2 separate regions of the Homo sapiens genome follow, and region 1 is linked to region 2. Evidence: promoter capture Hi-C in 16 types of primary human blood cells and fetal thymus (Javierre and others, 2016). All regions are on one chromosome and are shown on one strand. The core of a region is centred on a gene start or on the middle of the fragment in contact, and the rest is flanking DNA. Distances in the headings are between cores, read along the strand shown. Region 1 holds the start of TDRD3 (tudor domain containing 3). Region 2 holds the start of CKAP2 (cytoskeleton associated protein 2).

Region 1 (3,567 bases), core at 983-3,482, 7.9 Mb before region 2:
TATCTAGATAAATTCAGAGTCAAATTTCTTCTCCCCGTGAAGTTATTCCATGCATATAATTAAGCTTTACAAGGTACCATTTAGTGCATTATTTAAACATTATCACTACTCTGTAGAAAGCCCTGGAACATTCAAGTTCAAATCAGCAAAATCTAATAGTTTGTGTGCTACTGGCCATTGAAGAACAAAAATTATTTTAAGTCCGCCAGGTAGCTACTTTTGAAGTTATATTTTAAAATACTGATTTTTATAGGGGTTCTAATGAAGATTAAAACCTTAAGAAGGAAAAAAACTGCGCTTAAAAATAATGTAAACTTGAACAGATTGGTCTACATAGATCTTCTGTACCCCCCTGAAGATCACATTTTCAGAATTGTAAACTTTTCAGCACTAAATATTTCCCTAATCTGCTATTTTAGGTGAAGCCTATAGAACAGATTTAACAATAGTGTGTCCATGTTTTAGCATCTACTTCTTTTTAGCTTCTACAAGTAACTAAGTACATAGATTTGAATACTAAGAAAAATGGTTTGTCAGTGACAGTTAACAGAGAACCCCAAGTGTAAGAGCAAACTCAGGATATAAGAACTAAAATGAGTTGGTGAAAGCCCTTCAGTCAGAAATTTTCCCTCCAGTGCTCTTTTCTGCCTTTAAACCTTTGTGATTCTAAATTTTAACATAGTAAGTCCCCAATTAAAGACCTAGTAGAAGCCACCTGAAAGCCTAGGAGATCCTCATGCCTAGTCTGTTCGAGACCTAGCAGGAATTACATGAAACTCACAATTCCTAGAAAGATAGTGTTTTTAGCCCCGCAGATTACTACTGCCTTTATGAGTCACTGCCATACAGAAGCAGCACAGACAGGTGGGAGAAACATAAACAGTTAAGTTGCAATATAAAGTAGCAAATGCTACAATATAACATTGCTGAAGATTTATAACAATATAACGAAGCAGGGTGGGACTCTACCTAAGCTTCTGCAGAGGCCCTGCCCAGAGAATTCTGACTGGCAGGGGCATTCCAAGGTCAACTGTATTAGACTTTACAGAGAACCTACAATCTGGTGCATTTCTTGACAATCCAGATAAGGAGAAAAATAAGACTCACTTCCCTGCCCTGGAAAAGCATAAGAGGCCAGAGAAAACAAAGTCAACACGTGTTCGGGACCTAAAAAATGAGACTAATCTTTCCAAAGGAGGGGGGGTCATGTTGGAAAGCAGTAAAATACTGAGTTTGTAAATGAAAATATTACTAGTGTGAAGGATCAACGCTCAACCTAATGAGAAATGGGGAGAAAGGCAAATGAAAGAGGGATCCAAGATTATTCAGGACACCCTTGTGGGTAAAAAAACTGAAAGAAGAGATTCCTATTGAACAGAAACAAAACTGAAGACAGTGTTTTTAACTCTACAATCTTTTACGCCCATGCTGTTCTGCGAAAAAACTGTAACAACAATAACGCATAAGCGTTAAAGGAACCAGGCCCAGAGCCAGGCCCTCTGTGCTCAACATTCAACTCCACCACTTTCTAGCTATGTCATTTTGGGAAAGTTACTTAACAGCTCTTTGCCTCAGTCTCCTCACCTGTAAAATGGGGTGTATAATAACACAAGTGCCTTTAAAATCAGGAGGGGCTTCTTCAAAGCACAGTTGTGATTATATCCCTCTACTGATCAAAAACTTTATTCACAAAATCAAATCCACATCTTTCACGAACCATATAGATCTTGTGTAGGTTCTGCAAAACAATAAGCGCTTCCCTGTGTCATCTCCAGCAGCTCTGTGCTAGAAAGCCTTTTCCTTACCATCTTTCCAAGTCCACTTTAGGAAAGTAACTCTCCCTCCCATTCCACAGTGCACTCATCTGTTCCTCTGTACGTACGGTTTATCACTATTCCCCCTGGTTTTGTTTGGTCTTTTAATGCCTCACTCTTTCTCCTAAAGCAGTAATTGCAGAGAGCCGTTGCAAATCTTTTTCATCCCCGTTCCTACCCTTCATCCCAGAATGTGCCTGTGCAAGCCTGGGAAAAGCGTTACTGAATTAAACGGGATGATTACAACCGTAATGGCCGCAATTCCAGAAACTGCCTAATTTCGCATAATTTTGTATTGTTTTCAAATCCTGAAAATCTTGACACGAAAGGCCTCTTAAAATCAGAACACCATCCTTTCAAGAAAAGTTCTACCGAGCACCCCCACGAGTTGACATTGCGGTCATTCTTAGCTCCAGAAGTTGTGTGTGTGCCGCGGAAGGCAGATTCACACTGGTCCACACTGTACTTTGAAATAAGGGGTAAGAAGAGGCGGCTCCGGCCGCAGCGCGGGCTGTGCTCTGCTCTGCCCTCAACTTCCTATGGGCCCGCGGGCTCCGGCCGCGTTCGTCCCTCTCCGCCGCACTTCGTTCCCAGCCCTCGCCTCCCGATCCCGCTGCAGAAACACCCCCTCCCCGGAGAAGCCGCGCGGACGGCGCTGCAGGTCCTCCCCGGCGCTCCGGTCGGCCGGGGTCTGGGCCGCCACCCGCCCGGCTCGCGGCCCCCGGCCTCTCCCCAGGCCCGCCGCCCGCCGCCCGGGGCCCAGGCCCGCCGCCCGGGGCCCAGGCCGCCGCCGCCGCCGCCTCCAGGGGACCTAGGGGAACTCGCAGGGCTCCGCGTGGCGCCGGGGGCGGAGCCGGCCCGAAGGGCCCGGGGAGAGGCCGGGGGCGGACGACAGCCTCCGCCTACCCCGACACGCACCCCGCCGCCCCCAACCCAACCTCCCTGGGGCCCCGGCCCGCACCCGCGGCCCGGCAGCCGGCGGGACTCGCCACTTACCAACCCGCCTGGGACAACGCCGCGCCGGCCACCTGGGCCATGGTAGCTGCTTAGGCCGGGGGTGGTGGGGGGCTGGGGTGGGGGTGATGGGGAGGCCTCCTACTTGAGACCCCCCCCCTTAAAAAAAAAAAAAGAAAAGAAAAGAAAAAACTCCTCTGGTCGGCTCTGCAACTGGGCATGCTCAGTGCGGCCGGCGCTTCCGCGTGCGGGTTCCGCTCGCCGCGTTTTCTGAGCGGCCGTAGGGGCCGGCCTGGTGTGGGGCTCCCAGGCTGCGGAGCTCCGGGACCTGATCCACCAAACACCGGCTGGTGGCTGGAGTCAGGACGGTTCAGGGACTTTGCCTCTTCCCCGAAGGCTTTTACTTGTTTTGGGGGGCGCTTTTCTGAGTTGCACACCTTGGAAAGTCGCGAGGAGGTTCTTCGTAGAGCAAAAGTGTGGCGTTTGCAGCGCCCACAGGCGGCCACCTCAGAGAGGGCAGGATAAGGCCTGAGGAGACTGACGGGTTGGCTGCGAGGGAACGCGTCCAGGACCGCGCTAAAAAGGTCACGTTGCGGGCAGCAAAACTCAGAGGTGTCCCCAGCCCATTCTGCACAAAAGTTTACTTTCTTATAAACACTCGTTCCCTTCACCTCGCCTTTTGGTCCGCCCGGACGCAAAGAAAAAATGCAGCTCAAGCTTTTTTGAGTCCCCGCGGGCAGATCGAGTTGCCCCAGTCGGACACCACAGTGAAAATGCCCTGGTCAGCCCAAGAAAACCT
Region 2 (3,800 bases), core at 170-2,669:
AATAAAACGATGATCTAATGCTGCACCATCCAATAAAGTAGCCACTAGCCAATGTGGCTACTGAGTGCTTGAAATGTGGATAGACCAAATGGAAATGTCCTGTAACTGTAAAATAGACACCAGATTTTAAAGACGTTGTACCACAAAAAGACGTAAAATAATATGTAAGCAGTTTTTCTAAATGTGGCTACTAGAAAATTTAAAATTACAGATATGGCTTACTTTACATTTTCATTGGACAGATCTGATACAATTTTACAGAAGTGAAAAGAAATAAACTTGACCTTACCTGGATAACATCTCATTTTCCTGCTTGTATGCAAAAAGCGTTTTTCTTCTCAACAGATGTTCCTTGAGTTTTTGTCTTCTTTGCTCTAGATAACAAAGGTAAGAGCTACAAGTCAATATTAGTTAAAACATCGATAACGGCAAATAAATCTTGTTGACTAAATGAAGAGTTTACTTCCAAAGCTGGTTCCACCTGAGGTCACATCTATATAACAGAAAATTCTCCAATTCAATATTGCCTTTGAGAAATCACCTTAGAAGAGACTGTTACCACAACAGGTCCCCAAAACCCCTCTGCATAAGAATCACATTCTCTACTCCCTGTGAAAAATCTGGAGAACATCATTTTCTACATACAGCTCCTGCTAGCCAAGCTTTAAGAAACTAAATGGTAGAAGTGAGGCACTAGACTCGAAAGTTCTAATTTACCAGAACTGGGTTAGATGAGAATTACTTTCTTCTGCTTTCCCGTGTGTAGAATAAGGGAATAACAATATTAGTTTTGAAGACCCAACCAACCCTCGGTTTCCATAAAGTCGAAGGAGAAGCTGTGAAATTGGAAATAACACATGATGCGACCCCAGCCCTGCAGAAATTCGCTAGGGACCTAAGAGGCGGAGGACCCAGCGCAGGCGCAGTCGGTCCCTGAACCTGTGCAGCCCCGCCCCCAAGCGGACCCAGGGTCTCCGACACCGACCCCGGCCTGAGGCCCGCGCGTTTCCCCTCGCCTAACGGATTCCTTCTTAGGAGGGCCCATCCCAGCCAGCAGCGACCGCACAGTAACACCACGCAGCGGTTCCTGTTTTTATGATCCGTTCCACAAGGCCAAGAATGAGGCAGGGCGAGGCCGACGCCGCGTTCAGGGATCTCACAGAGCGGGGGAGAGGTGAAGCGCGCCAGCGCGGCCCCGAGCCCCGACCGCCGGGCCCGCGCCCGCCACCGCCACCGCCACCGCCACCGCCACCGCCACCGCGGCCTTCACCTTTGAATGCGGACTGCGCCCTCTGACTCGGGGGCAGCTGCAGGTCCTGGGGCACGGCCGGTGTGCTCATCGTAGCCTCGGGTCGGGGGATGCGTCTCCGCTTTAGCGCCAAGATAGAACTTCCTCAGACCACCGCCGCCGCAGTCTGCACCGCGGCTAAGCCGTCAGACGGCGCGGCTGCCGTCTCCGCCCATTGGTTCCTGCGTGAATTGAATAAGCCAATGGGCGTAGGGAGGCGGAGCCTGGACTGCAGTTGCCGGGGCCGGTCTGGTGTCTGCCCAGTTCGGTTGGGACTGAGTCTGCAGGTTTCAAACCTAAACAGCGCTCTTCATCCTGGACGTGCGATGGGGGAGGAGTCGGCCTGCTCAGTCCCCACGACATAGCAGGACTAGGTTGACAAACAACCGAGATGGGACACATCTTGAGACCCTCACAGTCCTTGGAGGAAGGCAGACGAGAAAAAGACAAGAAAAGTGTTGATTGGCTGCCCTTCTTATTAAACATCGACGCGTTCACTGACGAGGACGTAAACACCGATCTGGCGTACCACGAGCGTGTGTATTTTCGTTTCACAAATACTGCTTCATTTTGAGCATCAATTCTGAGGTGGGACGTTATCACCACTTTTTCCACTGAGAGGTGACAGGTTCAGAGGTTGTTTGTCCACGTTTGCACAGCGTGTGAAGGGGAACTGAAATTGGGATCTACTTTCCATACCTTTATTCTAAGCAATTATCAAATGCAAAAAAGGGAGGAGAGGAGGAGAAACAGAAAAAAATGAAGATAAACCTCATCCCCTCCTCAAGGTTATATATAATTCTCCTTTGAAGATAAAATAGCATTTGTTACAGACGTTTTGTGTTTGTGTGGTTAAGTGTGCCGCCATAATCTTCGTTTTTCTCATCTAAAAATACCACCTTCATAAAACCCACACAAACACTCAATCCACATGACAGAACGAAACAAGTCAGGGCTAGAAGGTTTTAAGAGTGGCAGTGGGGAAGTGAGGGCGAGTCTGGACTGCACCTGCCTGGTTTCAAGCACTGGGTTTACATTTCTTGCCTGATCACTGCAGTAAGGCTGGACTGGACTCTTTCAGCCAGGTTTTAGGTGCTCCGGGCACACAGACGGGAGGATGTGATTTCCCCGTTTACCCTTCCCAGGTCTGAGGGCCTCCACAGCTGGCCCTCGGCTGTGGTCAGTTTTTCCCACTTCTGCCTGCTTTTTTCTTCAGACATCTTATGGTAGCGTCTTGCTAATGAGGAATTTGGTTTGAGATTTTGTGTAGTTTTTTACTTGATGAAATGTCCCAGTTTTAGTTTAACATTGTCCATCACCATCCTTAAGATATAACTTGCTGTTTAAATACGTCTGTCATTATTGTTGATTATTTACTAAAGTTTCATCAGACAGGTGGGGCAACCAGGGATTTCTATTAAGTGAGAACAAAATACAGCGTTAATAAGTGACTCAAAAACCTCCAAAACATTATGCTAAGTAAAAGAAGTAATATATGAAAAGTTACATATGGTATGATTCCATTTATATGAAAGATCTAAAATAGATACATCCATAGTGAAATAACTCAGAATAGTAGTTGCCAGAGGCTGAGGGTAGGGGGAGAATTGGGAGACAGTTTAATGGACAAGGGTTTCATTACCTTGAAGTAAGTGAAATGTTTTGGAATTAGAGGTAGTGGTTGGGTGACATTGTAAATGTATTAATGCCATTGAGTTGTTCACTTTAAAATGATTAATTTTATGTTATGTGAACCTCAATAATTTTTTATAAGTGGGCATGGTAAAAAAAGAAATTGACTCAAAGGATACCATGGAGATCTCAGTAGGCTGAGATGAATAGGAAAACCTGCCAAACTGCTAGGTTTTTCAAAATGGCAATTCTCCTCTAATCTCCAGACTCACCCACTCCAATGATATGTCTATTTTTGAGACACTTTTTAATATTACTGCTACACAATTATTGCAGAGAAAGCAGACCTTTTTCTAAAAGATCCAAAAAACAAACAAAAAAAACAAAACAAAAAAGATTTCCTTTCAGAACAGTTCTTTGCCAACACAGCTGACCATGAAACTGCAGGCACCTGGAGTACTGATGATTAATTAGTGTTAGTCGTTCCTCCTGTGGTCATGTGAAGAAGGTAAAGTGCCTGTGAGAGAACAGGGAAGGACAATCTGAAAGTTAGGAGGACAATGGGGACACAATGGGGTCACAAAGTCTGGGGAAGAGAGAAGCTGAAGAAAGAGGTAATGGACCACAGTGTTGGGCACTACAGAGGTCCAGTAGGATTGGGACTGAAAGGAACCATCTGATTCAGAAGGTGGGAGGTCCTGGCAAAAACATCCTGGGGATGGCTGGGCGTGGTGGCTCATGCCCGTAATCCCAGCACTTTGGGAGGCCAAGGCGGGTGGATCACCTGAGGTCAGGAGTTCAAGACCAGCTTTGCCAACATGGTGAAACCCTGTCTCTACAAAATATACAAAAGTTAGCCAGGCGTGGTGGCAGGCACCTG

The links. Contacts are between HindIII fragments. The CHiCAGO score rates a contact against its expected background, and 5 or more counts as called.
Region 1: a fragment that was not itself captured here is called in contact with the fragment with the promoter of CKAP2 in region 2 in 1 of 17 cell types (total CD4 T cells); the score reaches 5.1 in total CD4 T cells.

Annotation. Positions count from the first base shown.
Region 1 is chr13:60,396,649-60,400,215 of GRCh38, reverse strand. TDRD3 (tudor domain containing 3) reads right to left here and starts at 2,996. Exons shown (of 14, transcript NM_001146070.2): 1 at 2,811-2,996. The coding sequence starts at 2,851. RefSeq lists enhancers at 2,145-2,194, 3,075-3,274, 3,124-3,567, 3,345-3,567 and a silencer at 2,365-2,934. The HindIII fragment of the contact is 2,511 bases long and covers 977-3,487 here.
Region 2 is chr13:52,453,097-52,456,896 of GRCh38, reverse strand. CKAP2 (cytoskeleton associated protein 2) reads right to left here and starts at 1,419. Exons shown (of 9, transcript NM_018204.5): 1 at 1,271-1,419; 2 at 290-374. The coding sequence starts at 1,340. CKAP2-DT (CKAP2 divergent transcript) reads left to right here and starts at 1,551. Exons shown (of 1, transcript NR_185890.1): 1 at 1,551-2,122. RefSeq lists enhancers at 1,719-1,798, 2,089-2,268. The HindIII fragment of the contact is 3,306 bases long and covers 665-3,800 here.